Regions from separate parts of the Homo sapiens genome. Here regions 1 and 3 are each linked to region 2. Evidence: promoter capture Hi-C in 16 types of primary human blood cells and fetal thymus (Javierre and others, 2016). All regions are on one chromosome and are shown on one strand. The core of a region is centred on a gene start or on the middle of the fragment in contact, and the rest is flanking DNA. Distances in the headings are between cores, read along the strand shown.

The links. Contacts are between HindIII fragments. The CHiCAGO score rates a contact against its expected background, and 5 or more counts as called.
Region 1: a fragment that was not itself captured here is called in contact with the fragment with the promoter of DCAF5 in region 2 in 1 of 17 cell types (neutrophils); the score reaches 6.6 in neutrophils.
Region 3: the fragment with the promoter of COX16 here is called in contact with the fragment with the promoter of DCAF5 in region 2 in 1 of 17 cell types (naive B cells); the score reaches 5.0 in naive B cells.

What each region holds. Positions count from the first base shown.
Region 1 is chr14:67,808,334-67,812,870 of GRCh38, reverse strand. It overlaps ZFYVE26 (zinc finger FYVE-type containing 26), which reads left to right. Exons shown (of 42, transcript NM_015346.4): 4 at 3,582-3,671. Among named protein-coding and RNA genes, the nearest start is that of ZFYVE26, 6.0 kb to the left of the region's middle. The HindIII fragment of the contact is 1,554 bases long and covers 2,060-3,613 here.
Region 2 is chr14:69,151,241-69,156,007 of GRCh38, reverse strand. It overlaps DCAF5 (DDB1 and CUL4 associated factor 5), which reads left to right and starts at 2,889. Exons shown (of 9, transcript NM_003861.3): 1 at 2,889-3,243. The coding sequence starts at 3,030. RefSeq lists silencers at 2,445-3,084, 3,905-3,954, 4,115-4,574. The HindIII fragment of the contact is 17,790 bases long and covers 1-4,767 here.
Region 3 is chr14:70,356,742-70,361,543 of GRCh38, reverse strand. COX16 (cytochrome c oxidase assembly factor COX16) reads left to right here and starts at 1,861. Exons shown (of 4, transcript NM_016468.7): 1 at 1,861-2,025. The coding sequence starts at 1,957. The region is part of intron 3 of SYNJ2BP-COX16 (SYNJ2BP-COX16 readthrough); the gene reads left to right. It also overlaps the pseudogene RNU2-51P. RefSeq lists enhancers at 1,282-1,371, 1,832-2,141. The HindIII fragment of the contact is 4,146 bases long and covers 1-2,396 here.

The sequences.
Region 1 (4,537 bases), core at 1,587-4,086, 1.3 Mb after region 2:
AAATAGTAACCTATAGTTACTATAGTATCTTCAAAGAGAAAAAGAACTATTGTTACTGATTAAGGGATCTCTCTAGTACAAACATGGAATTTGTCAAATCAAATTAACTTTCCCCTCAGTAGAGACTATTTGCTTACTTTATATCTGAATGGTTGCTTATTTTCTAGACAGTTGCTCAACTATGTCAGGAGATGGATTCCACTTCCCGTTCTTGTTTTTCCCAGGTTCACAAATAGATTATTTGGTCTTTAAAGCTTCAATGACTTGCTTATTTAAACAGTTGTGGGACTATTTTAGTTCCTCATAGAATTTTAAAACTATATAAGCACCATGGCGTCCAGTGAATTCTTGGGGTAGTTTTCCAAGTCCAGTCATTATCCTGAAGGTGCCTTCATCATCTAGGAATTTACTGGCTGCCTGTCCTTTTCCAGGTTCCCACCTTTTGCCAAAAGCTTCCCTTTTAATTATTAGATGAAATAGTGATTCTATTTTCCCTTTCCTCCATTCATTTTTGCCTTCTGCCTTTTAATCTTGCAGAGATGTATCTCTCCATGTGTAAGCAATTATACAAAGATTTAGCTGCAGAAATGTTCACGTCTATGCTACTTCTATTAGAAGAAAACTGAAACAACTCCCATGTCCATAGTATAGGACAGGTTAATAAATGGAAATATATCTATATGTAAAATACTATACCACTATTCAAAAGTATTTGGCAAATGAGTTTTCACTAACATAGAGTGTTCATGGTCTGCTGTATGGGAAAAAAGGCAGTTTAGAAAAAAGTACATTTGGTATACATGCATAGAGATGTGCATAGCAAATGGTCTGAATGAATGGCCTTAGACCACAGTTTTCATAATTGTTCTCCTTCAGTGAGAATATATATAAAATATATATTTCATATATAATATGTTATATGTAATATATTTCATATGTGATATATATTTCATATATAATACATGTTATATATCATATATTTTATATTTGTTATATATCATAAATTTCATATATGTTATATATTATATATTTCATATGTAACTAAATACACCAATTAAATTTGTAAAATTACAAAATTAAATATACAAATAAGCAAACTAACATATGTTATATATATTATATTGCACTAAAATATAACATATATGTTACATATCTCTCTCTAGGATAAAACACTTTATCTTAGAGAAATAGCAGAAATAAGACTAACTGGACATACATATGTTTTATATATATATAACATATTTTAGTTTACTTATTTGTATATTCAATTTTTCTACATTGAACATGCCTTGCTCTTGTAACCGTAAAGTTATTTGACAGAACTGCTGCTGAAACCAAAATCTTCTGACCTCAATCCTCTGCTTTTTCTGCCTTAACACTACTTTTTTAGCCCAGATGGACTTAAAACTAAGAAACCACAAATTCTACTTTTAAGATGTCTATAATTTTGCCAGTTTTTTAAATTTTTGCTCCTCTCGGTCACCAGAATTAATTTTGTCTTTGGTTCCACTTTTGCATGACATCCTTGCTTAGAAATGCTGAGCAAATTCTTGCCTATTTTAGGAAGATAAATGTTAGTCAATTATGATCCTGAATATGTTTAAAGTAGTTTCAGCAGTAAAATAAGTATAATCTACTCAGTCTTTAGGATTCTAAATAAAATCTTAGCCAGGCTATTAAGGATCTGCTGTCCTAGACATCTTATCTATTCTTTTCTGTTAGTCTTCAATAGAAGCACTAATCCTCAGCTTCCCAGCATGAATTTTATCCACCAGCTTCCAATCACAGGCATTATACAAGCATTCACATGGCCTTGATGCACATATTAGGGAAGTACATGGTTAGAAGAAATAAGATTTTGGACCAAGAACACATTAGATCATGTTAGCCTCTGATGTGGTGAATGGTACATGAATGGAGATAGTTAGGTCTTGTGCTCTAAACTCTCCTCACTCATGTACACACACACACCTGCAGCTGTACACACACACACACTCTCACACACACACATCCCTGCAGGTGTTCCTTGCCTTCCAATAAAACTTATCTTTGGGAAGCTTTAACCAGAGGCAAGATTGACAGATGTCTCATATTTAAGGTAGTGTTTGTCAGGATAAGTCTCAGACTCTTGCTATTTTTATTTGTGTCTGGAAAAGGGGAGACTCCAATTTGTGTGTTAGGGACCAGGTGAAGGTAAGTTATTGTGAAACAAGCAGGCGCAGGAAGAGTCAGAGCCTTTGTCTCTATATATTAGACCTCTCTGATGGCACATCTCATTAACAAACACTGGGATCACCTTTTCCTTTTTGTTTGAAAAAATTGGGAAAAATGCTTCCTAACCATTTTACCTCTAGTAAAGATTATTTGTAAAAAATATATAAATATGTGCCACAGTTTTGTTTGATTTGGAAATTAAGTGTATTAAGAATAAAATATGGCACACAGTACCTGTGAGGTACTGGCATATAATAAGTGTTTAATAAACATTGGATTTCTCCCCTTATACTGTTCTTCTTTCACTGCTATGCAAAGGATAGTGAATGACAAAAACAGAGGTTTGGACCAAAAGAGGATCATGTGGGCCATACCCTCCCAGGCTTACCCACAACTGGGTGTTTTGAACACAACAAGAGAGATTCTTGGGGAAAGACCTCAAGTGACAAAAAAGGTTAATGAAATGAACAAACCTTGGAACTTACGGCTGATCAGTGTGGGCTTTAAGTATTAGTTTTTAAGAGAAGTGTATGTCCAAGTTTAGCTATTTTTGTTTATAAAGAATAGTATCTGTGCCAGGCACGGTGGCTCACGCCTGTAATCCCAGCACTTTGGAAGGCCGAGGCAGGCGGATCACGAGGTCAGGAGATCAAGACCATCCTGGCTAACACGGTGAAACCCCATCTCTACTACAAATACACAAAATTAGCCAGAAGTGGTGGCACACGCCTATAGTCCCAGCTTCTCGGGAGCCTGAGGCAGGAGAATCGCTTGAACCCAGGAGGCGGAGGTTGCAATGAGCTGAGATTGCGCCACTACACTCCAGCCTGGGCAACAGAGCGAGACTCTATCTCAAAAAAAAAAAAAAAAAAAAGAGAAAAGAATAGTACTGAAAACATATCCAGGAATGTTGTGTTTAAAAGTACTTTATCTTAGGCCAGGCGTGGTAGCTCACATCTGTAATCCCAGCACTTTGGGAGGCCGAGGTGAGTGGAACACTTGAGGTCAGGAGTTCCAGACCAGCTTGGCCAAATGGTGACACCCTGTCTCTAATAAAAATATAAAAATTAGCTGGACGTGGTGGTGCGCACCTGTAATCCCAGCTACTCGGGAGGCTGAGGCCTGAGAATCGCTTGAAGCTGGGAGGTGGAGGTTGCGGTAAGCTAAAATCATGCCACGGTACTCCAGCCTGGGGAACAGAGCAAGACTCTGTCTCAAAATAAAAAAAAAAAAAAAAAAAAAAAAAAAGAGTGCTTCATCTTAGAGAAATAGCAGAAATAAGACTAACTGGACAGAAATATTTAATTATAATTTGTTAACTAAAACATATATCTCATCTCTATGCTTCATTCTTTTGATTCTTCTAGAAGTTACTCCCAGTTGTTTTCCGGAGAAAGCTTGAGTTTCTTTTATTGTCAGAAGACCTCCAAGGTGACATTCCAGAGAACATCCTCGAGGTGAGAGAGAGCCCTGGTACCATCTGCCCAGGGTTGACAGTCACTTAAGCAGCTTAGCTTCCATGGACCCAGAAGAGAGAGGTCTCCAAGATGTTGCCCATACTTTGTTCTCAGGCAAGGCAACACAGAAGCTCCTTTGAGGAGAGTTTAGAGTTAGGGTAAACTTATATGATTTTAGAATTTTTGATGTGGTTGTCCAGAAGTACCAAGTATAACTGGGAATTAAAGATTTATTAGTAGATAGCAGGGAATATGAAGGGGACAAGGAACTAGTATTCGTTGACTATCTTTTCTATAACAGGGTCACTGAATGTGTTAGAGTTAATTCTCATAACAACCTTCTGGGGGTAGATTCAAATTAAGTCTTAATTATATCGTTATAGCATGTATCAGTTACTACTTTAGTGCCTGAGATATGCTCTGAGGCCCAATACTTATTTTTTTAATGACCCTGACACCAGTTAATTAAAGACATATTTACAGTAGGATTTAAGAGAGGGACTTTCACTTGTATTAGGTAAAGGACTCATGGTCTTGCAGTCCATCTCTGAGGCAGTTAATGAAGTGGCATCATCGAGTACCATCTATAGGCATGATGCTTAAGTATGGGAAATAACCTACTTCTCACCCCCTTCTCTCCCTGTACCCTCACCCTGCAAACAGAGGATAGGCTCTAGAGGTTCTTGCTTTTAGGTGACTGAGGAAGAAGGACTAAAACACACACTATTATGTATTAAATCATATGGTACTAATTTTAAGTACATTGAAGTTGTATGGGTTGGAGGTATTGGAGAAGGTTTTTGTAGTAGGATAAAGAATGGACTGAAAGCATGGCTGGGATTTAGATCAAGGGTTAAAAACTGACA
Region 2 (4,767 bases), core at 1,640-4,139:
CACTCTTCTCCCTCTTCCTCCATACATTCTCTGCAGTGGTTCAATTTACTCAGAAGTAATTTCATTTGCTATTTTAAAGCTAAGTACACTGGCCTTTTCACTATAAATGCCTATATGAAAAACACAAAGCTCATGTGGTCATCAAAGCTGATTAAATGTTTGTGGTATTGCAATTTTGTTACAGGTGTGGTAAAAAAAGTTTGTGGTAGGTAGTTATGTACCATATTATTAGTTTGCAATAAATGACACAAGGGACTATGTTAAATTCCTAGTAAAAGCAAATTGATATTATGGAGTTTCATCTTTTGAAGTTGGTTATAAGTAGGTGGCCAGATTGAGCAAATAAAAAATTCAGGATGCCCAATTCGAGTTTCAAATAAACAATATTAGTATATCTCAAATATTTCATGGGGTATACTTAAACATTCATTGTTTATCTGAAATTCATACCAAATTGGGTATCCTCCATTTTATCCGACAACTCTTAATTATAGGAATAGGAAGATATTTCATTCAGGCTTATAAAAATCTGGCCAGACTAGCAGTAGGATATAAACAGACTAGGTGGTCCTACCTTTCTGTCACTGTTGGTCACCCAACAGTTAAGGAAGTTTCCAGCAAAGTCCTAGATTTGGGCTGGCATGTGACCAGATGCTGGTCTATTTTTATGCTGAGGTAAATGGGACAATTTTCCCAGGAATTCAGTAAAAACTGTAAAGGGGGTATGTGCTTAAGAGGGCAGAGGAGGATGCGTATTATACACTGCCACAGTAAAGGCCACTTCGAACAAATCTCCCCCACCCCAGGCAAATAGGTATAAATGATGGCCTATTAACTGGAAGAAGTTAGAGGGGGTTTTGAATGTGTGGACTGAGTATGCCAAGCAAAGGAACAGTGAGCAGGGAAACTGGCCTTGGAACAAGTGGATTCCACTGGAATGAAACAGGTCAAACTCAACATATCCAAACCGGAAAGCACGACCTTTCCCTTCAAACTCCTCCCCACTCCCTAAGTACATTCATGAATTCAGCAAGTATTAAAGCGGCCACTAGTGCCAGCAAGTACTGGCTCCAGGCATACACCCTTGAGCAGAACAGACGTAGTCCCTGCTCTCAGAGAACTTACAGCAGAGTGGGGAGACTCATATCATCACAAAAATAAATGATTAATTACACATTTTGACATTGCAATGACAGAAGGATGTTTGGTGCTATACATCTTTAATAAAGCTGGTATACTGCTACTAATTTTTAGGTGGTGATTATAATGAATAAACACAAAGGATTATTAGAAGGCATCCTGAGGATAAAACCTTTTAAGTACCACATAGTTTCCTATTTAGGGGAACAATATTCCATTAAAATTCACATTTTTGGAATTTGATTTCTTTCTTTTAAAAATTTATTTATTTTTTGCCCTTTTCCCCAAGTTCTGATGGAATTTGGTTTCTGTTTAGTAATGTTTGCTAGAATATGTACTTTTATATGAAACATTTGCATATTTGTTATTAGTACGATTAATCGTATTGTCACTGAACAAAAAGTAGAAGTAAATAATTTTGTTTGACGGGTAAACCTCTTCCATGTTCAGCCGATCTTTTTTTTTAAAAAAAATTATTATTATTTTCCCCAGATCAGAGATGTACAGCCCATCTTTCAATGATGATTCTACTCAACTGCTCCTGTGCCATCTCTGGTCCAGAGGATGTAATTCCTGCTAACTTGAAAGGGCAAAACTGACAAGTGCCTATTTCAGTAGCTTATTACCACTTAATGACAGAGGATAGCTTCCAGGAAAAGTACTATAATACATCGAAAAGGGGACTTTTAACTGTATCTGGTAGAATTCCAAAGCATTTAACACCCACTAGGGTCAACGCGGTGACTCCCATCCTACTGAAGTGCAGCCACTTCTGGCCTGGAGCGCAGCTGCTGGTTAACAGCTGTCCAACCTCAGTGCTCCCCACTCGAGACCTTTAAGAGGAGCTCACCGAACCCAATTAAATAACATATATCGTTAGTTTCAAATCACGCTTCTTGTGTCGTGCAAATTTATCTGGAACGGAGAGAAGTACCTCGTGCTTCTCGGGACTTCATCAACTCGGTTTTGGCAATTTTCTTCCTACTTCTTTATCCCTTTCTCTTTCCCCCCATGTACCACTCTAATCTGCCAGACGGAACAATTTAGCCTTTTTCAACTAAAGGACCGGAGGAAGGAAGAGTTAGAGAACTGGACTTGGGGATGAGCGGTGGTGTTAAACATTTACCGGGAGAGGGGAAGGGGCGGGTGCGCGAACAAAACCCCCAGGCAACGTTCCTCCAAGTGTGCGGCCCTACCTCCCGGTTCCCCCGCCTCGGGCAGGGCCGGACTGCCCAAGGCAGAGGCCAGCAGAGGAAGGAGGGCCGGAGCCCCCGCCCGCACCTTCCCCCACTCCAGCCGCATTTTCCCCGAACTCGTACGGGCGCTGGCCTCCGGGCAGCAGCCGGCCCGCGGGTCCCCGCGGGAGGAAGGCGAGCCAAAGCCCGGCGGCCACTCGGATTGTTACGCGCATTCAACTCCGCGGAGTGCGGGGCGCTGGGGTGCAGAGGGGTCTCCGCCCGGCGCCACCCAGGTCCCCAGGCGGGAAGCGGCTCAACTGGGAAAGCAGCCGGCGCCCGTGGTCTCCGGGCCGGCCGCCCGCGTTCTTCCGGCCAGCCCCCCGCGGAGGGGAGGGGCGCCGACGCCGCGTTCTCGGGGCCCCGCAGCCGGCGGAAGGGCCGCGCATCGCGGAAGCGCGGCGGCAGCTGAGGATCAGCTGCTGGAGGAGGCGGAGAGGCAGAGGGAGGAGCCTCGGGGGGAAGGAGAGGGAGGGGACCGTCAGGAAGCCGCGAACGCCGCCGAGTGTCTGCACACCTCGCTCTGCCTGCCATGGCTGGTTAAAGAACCATCCGGATCGCAGCGCGGGGGGAGGGCCGGGTGGGGGGAGCAGCGGCCGCGCGTGAGGCCGAGGGAGGGGCGGCGGCGCGAGCGGCGGCGGCGGCGGTTCCAGCATGAAGAGGAGAGCTGGCCTGGGGGGCAGCATGAGGTCAGTGGTGGGCTTCTTGTCCCAGCGGGGCTTGCATGGGGACCCCCTGCTCACTCAGGACTTTCAGAGGAGACGCCTGCGGGGCTGCAGAAACCTCTACAAGAAGGACCTCCTCGGCCACTTCGGCTGTGTCAATGCCATTGAATTCTCCAACAATGGAGGCCAGTGGCTGGTCTCAGGTAAATCAACCCCCTTCCCCTCCCCGCGCCTCCCCGCACCCTCCCAGCCTCCCCCTCTCGCTCTCCCCCGTCACCCTCCTCCTGCCCTCTGTCCCCACCCCCTCCCTTTCTCTACCCCCTTCTGCGGTGGGAAGGTTTGGTGTCAAATTAAAACCATTGCAGGGGGAGGGGAAGGAGAGGATGTCTTCTATAAAAAAGACCTAAAATGGTTGACAGCTCCTTAATTCGCTTTATCCCAAGTGCAAAGTGATCTCTCCTGATGCCTGCCCTGAAAGTGTAGGTCGGGGAGGGGGGCGAGGTTACCGCTCTACAAAGTTTGACGGCAAACTCTTCCTCCGCGTACTTTAAAAGGTGCTGGGGGCATTTTGGGGATGTGGAGGGTGAGGAGGCCGAGGAGCGCCGGAGGCAAGGGGGAGCTGAAGCCCCCGTCGCCGGCGTTAAGGAAAAGGGGTCTTGGGGCTGGGAAGCGGGCGGTGACAGACCCGGACGCCGAGGGGCCGGGGGCTGCGACCCGGGGGCTGGCGGGGTCTGCAGAGGGGAAGTGACTGGGGCGGTAGGGTCGCTGTGGGCCGCCCCCCTCGGCGCTCTTAGAGGCCCAGCACCATCGCCTTTCGTTCGGTTGTGGCCTCTTCTGCGTCTTGTTTTTAATACAGTTTCGAGAGTGGCGAGGGCTGTGGAGGCTAAAGGGCACCAGCCTGAACTTGAATGCGCAACTTGCGAGGCAGGCGGTAGGGTGGGGGACCCCCGGGAGACTTGTTGGCGGGAGCCCGGCGCCCCGCACCCCGTTTCCCGCGGCCGCTGTTGCAAGTGGTCTCTGCTTCTCCTCCCTCTCGCCCAGACGGGCCTGGTTGCCCCCGGGCTCTCCCTCTGGTTTGGGGAAAGTGGCGAAATCGAGGCCGGGGCTCCGGCCGGGCGGTGTAGGCCTCGCTCTCCCGGGGCTCCTAGCGACAGGCAGCTGAATCGATAGCCTATTGCTCCCGGGGAGGCCCGGGCCCCGCGGGCCGCGGCGACAGCTGCCCCTGGGGAGGTGCGCCTGCTGCCGGTGGGGGCGCTCGCCGCCGTCGTCCCCTCCTCCCTGGGGTCGCGGGCCCAGGGCAGGGGCGGGTGGGAATGGGCCTACGTGAGGGCTAGGGGGCGGCTCCCCGAAACCTGGCTCAGGGGAGGGGGGGTGAAGACGGCTGATTGGGCGTTCCTGCTTGGCTGCTGCCCTCTTCTGTCCCTTTTCCTATATTGGGAGGGATGAAGGGGGAACCCAGCGCTGGACGTGGCGCTTAGCTTCACCCAGGTCGGTCCCTGAATGTCTTTCTAATTTGTGTCCGTGAGCAGCTCGCCAGAAACTTCTGGGATCTTGGCAAAGCATCCGTCTTCGCGAGTAACCTTCGGAAGTGACATGGGGCGTACAGTCCAATTTGGGGGTAGCAAAGAGAAAGGTCTTCTGTGATCATTTTATGATAAACCTTCTGGGGTCTGTCCAGAACTGACTTGACTTTTGTACCCCAGATCGTTTTCTCTTTGACTAGGTAG
Region 3 (4,802 bases), core at 612-3,111, 1.2 Mb before region 2:
TTTTATGTAGTGAAGATGTAGGAAAACGCTAGAGTTTTAGAGCAGCGCCTTTGGCTTCTAGGATCTTAGGGAAAGTAGGAGATGTGATACGCTTAACTAACCTGGATGCCACGTGAGATTTATTTATTTATTTTTGAAACAGGGTCTAGCTGTGTCACCCAGGCTGCAGTGCAGTGGCATGATCACGGCTCACTGTAGCCTGGACCTCCTGGGCTCAAGTGATCTTCCCACCTCAGCTTCCCAAGTAGCTGAGACCCCACCATGCCTGGCTAATTTATTATTATTATTATTATTTGTAAAGATGGGGTCTTGCTTTGTTGCTCAGGCTGGTCTCGAACTCCTGGGCTCAAATGATCCTCCTGCCTCAGCCTCCCAAACTGCAGGTATTACAGGCATGAGCCACCATGCCTGGTCTGCATGAATTTTGAAATATCAAAAGGAAGTAAATAAGATGGGAGAGATGCACCGTTCCTGGGTTTCTGGAGGTATTGAAATACAGGTTGATGTGTAGAGTGGTGGAGCAAACTCCTATTCCATCTCCTTGCTTCAAAAACCCATTTAACATATTTTCCTTGGATAGAGAATGTGTCAAATATTAAACTGTTAAGAACAGATACTACACTTGATCTTAGCCAAAAGGATAAGTTTCACTGGAGTAGCCTGCAGTAGATCTGGAGCTTCTCTTCTGGAGACCACTTAAGAGGCTACTTTAATAGGTGAAAAGATGATAAGGAATTAAAAAAAGGAACATTTCAGTGGTAACAGAGAGGCAGGGACAGATGGAAATATTTCAGGAATAGCATGGAAGATAATATTCCGCATCACCTGCACTCTGATTCACTCTGGTAAATGGGACACGTGGGGGATCGGCTTCCTAAGCTATCCCAGTACTTCACACATGTTTGTTTCTGTGCCCATGAAATCGCCAGTGTCTTTAAGGTAAGGATCATATATTTTTATCTGTGTTCCTAGAACCCTTTCAAAGACACGCTGAAAGGTGGCCTGTATGGTTGCTGAATCATTGGTAAATAGACATTCATAAATGACTAAAGATTACAGGTTATCTCACAGTAAAATCATTAGCATTAAAAGTTCAGTAATGACTGATGAGACACTACACTGATTACATTTCAACCTAATCTTTCAAAAGCGATTTATTTTTAAAAGTCTCCATTAAACTGGCAAATTCCTCATCCCACAAATAGCCATAAAGACTGGAGTACCAGCTTCAAAATACTTTTTTTTCTTTTTTCTTTTTGAGACGAAGTCTCGCTCTTGTTCCCCAGGCTGGAGTGCGATGGCGCGATCTCTGCTCATTGCAACCTCCGCCTCCCGGGTTCAAGCGATTCTCCTGCCTCGGCCCCCCAGTAGCTGGGATTACAGGCGCCTGCCACCACGCCCGGCTAATTTTTGTATTTTTTTTTTTTAATAGAGACGGGGTTTTACCATGTTGACCAGGCTGATCTAGAACTCCTGACCTCAGGTGATCTACCGGCCTCGGCCTCCCAAAGTGCTGGGATTACAGGCCACCCACCCAGGCCACCGCGCCCGGCCTCAAAATACTTTTTTCCTTAGCTGATTTTATCGAGTGGCTATGTGCCTAAGGGAGTGTTCTAAGCAGACGTTAGTTAGGACCCAGAACGTGGGAAGTACTGGTTTCCAGATCAATTTGGTGGTGATCGTAAACCGATTCAAATCTCTAAATCCCAATTGCACGCCGACGTTACGGAACCAAAAACGCTGACGCCCACATTTCTGGGCGGACGCACAAGTATGTTACGATGGCTCGATTGCTTTTGCCTAGCGGAAACCATTCACTAAGGACCGAGCACCAAATAACCAAGGAAAAGGAAGTGAGTTAAGGACGTACTCGTCTTGGTGAGAGCGTGAGCTGCTGAGATTTGGGAGTCTGCGCTAGGCCCGCTTGGAGTTCTGAGCCGATGGAAGAGTTCACTCATGTTTGCACCCGCGGTGATGCGTGCTTTTCGCAAGAACAAGACTCTCGGCTATGGAGTCCCCATGTTGGTGAGTGGAGTGAGGAGGATCTTCCGCAAGGGGTGGGACCCTCCTCCTTGGCAGGATCAAGACCTGGGAGGGAATCTGTAAAATGTGAAGTTAAGGGCTGGCACTCGGGCTAGGAAGGAGCTAGCGACGGGGTGAGAGCTTTCCTAAAAGCTCTTCCACCAGTCTTTTCCACACCCCCACTTCCCCGCCGCTGTCCCCCACTCCCGGTTGGATTTCAGGTGTACTAGGATCTGTCTGCTTGTGAGCGTGGCGTCTTTCCCATCGTCGAACGCGGTCATTGTTACTACCCTTGATTCACAGTTAAGTAAATTGAAGCTCAGAGAATTCAGTCAGAACCACACTTTAAGCCAAGTTTGGATGATTACTAAGCTTGCTTCCTCGCCCCCAACTTAGCTATGTTTTGACGATACTGTGGATCATTGGGACTAGATGTATTCCATTTAACTGCACGAATTCCTGGTATCTTTCTGTTTCATCTTTCTAGTTTGTGAATTAGCTTAATACTTAGAGTTGTGATGAACTAATAACACCTTGTGAATAAAGTGTTGAGTACGGTGCCTGCCACATTGTAGCCAGAATGATTGCTGTGTTATAATTTCTAAAGCACGTTGAAAACAGCTTCCGTGTTTATATGGTTTCATCCATATCCACACTGAGTTCCCTAAGGATGTCATGAAATGCAGGCTGAGGCTGGCTTAAGACAACCAGAGTTGAAATCCAGATGACTCTTATTTGCTTTTTGATTACGGGCCAGTTATTTTGCTTCAGCAAGCCTTGATGTGTTAGTAAATGAAATAATTAAAGCATATGAACAAAAGCTGCTTTTAAATACAGACTATATTTTTATTTTGTATGAATGTTGGCGCAGATGAAATTACCAGCTTTTCCATTTAAGCAGACTAAAGGAAAGAAGTGATCTTAGAAAGGTAATGGATATTTTACACAGTTTTGAAAAATCCACATTCATCAAATGTGGATTTTAGGAATCTCCAAAAGATTCACCCATTTGAAGTATCTGGGCCAAGCACGATGGCTCACACCTGTAATCCCAGTGTTAGGGGAAGCCAAGACAGGAGGATCGCTTTAGGTCAGGAGTTCCAAACCAGCAAGACCTCTGTCTCTCCAAAAAAAAAAAAAAAAAAAAAAATTGTTGTTTTTAGCAAATTCGATATTAGTATACTAATATATTCGTATATTAGTATATTCTTAGTTATGGAGCCATCACCACAATTTTAGAACATTTTCATTGCCCCCAAAAAAGCATCATAACTAATAGTAGTCACTTCCCATTTCTTCCTGCCTCTTAATGCTGGCCTGGTAAACCACTAATCTACTTCTACCCGTAAATTTGCTTATTCTGCACATTTCATATTAACACACTAATACAACGTGGGTTTTTTGTGACTGGATTCTTCCACTTAGAATGTTTTTAAGGTTCATTCACATTGTAACATATATCAATACTTCATTCCTTTTGATGGATATAATTCCATTGTTTGGATATATTTTATCAATTGATGAACATTTGGGTTGTTTCAATTTTTGACTATTATGAATAATGCTGCTATGAACATTTATGTACACGCTTTGTGTGGAAGTATGTTTTCATTTCTCTCAGGTAGGGAATATACCTAGACGTGGAATTGCTAGGTCATATGGTAACTCTTCAACTTTTTAGGATGTGCCAGATGTTTTCCAAAGTGGCTGCATCATTTTACATTCCCACCAGCAAGATATGATTTTCAATTTCTCCACATCCTTGCCAACACTTGTTATTGTCCATCTTTTGAATTATTACCCTTTCTAGTAGGTGTGAAGTGATACCTCATTGTGGTTTTGATTTTCATTTCCCTAACGACTTATTATGTTGAGCATCTTTTCAAATGTTTATTGGTCATTTGAATATCTTTTTGGAGAAATGTCTGTTCAAATCCTTTGCCCATTTTTTAATTGGACTATGTTTCCTTTTATTGGACAGAGGTTTCTTTAAAACCCAAAACCAACAAATCTGCCAGTCTTTGTCGAGAGGCTCTGCATGCTTTTTTGGGCATGCTTTCAACATTCAGCCATGCAATTTACAGCTCCATGTATAGCCTTCACTTCTTACTTGCTCAGAGCTTCAAATTAGTCATAAGTTGAGAATTTAGGGCCTTCTCAGGTCTTTCTTGGGCATATACATTGCTCTGGGCATGTACACAGTTCTAGTTATTTGCATGACTTTCTAAATTCTCAGGAATATATTTGAGCTTTTCAGAGTCCTCTAAGGACACCTTATTCCTATTATCTACCACATCAGACAGTCATAATGTTAAACAATTACCTCTGAATTTTTTTTTTTTTTTTTTTTTTTTTTTTTTTTTGACAAACGCTTCCTAGGAGAAGTCTGTTCATACTAGTTGAGCTCCATGTCAGGTAAACTACAGAGAGCTTTGTGAATAGCATCTTCCAGGAAGTACCAGACTGGTGAAATGATGACATTTCTCACAGAATGGTGTTTTAAAGAGCTCCAACCTCTCTACCCTCTTCACTTGGTGCCAGGCTTTACATCATGTTTGCAGGCTGTTGGTTTTCATGGTTGTTACGGAGCTTGGGTGGAGGGGTGAGAATATGACAAATTAAAAATGCCACCAAGCTGTTCTTCCTGAGATTCAGGCATTTTTCTTAGGTAAATACTGTGCACATTGTTGCAAGTTTTTGCTTAATTTTCAGAGTTCTAAAAAAGTTTATTTGACAATTTTTTACAAATATTCTCGTTTTTGTGGAGGAAAGGATTTTTG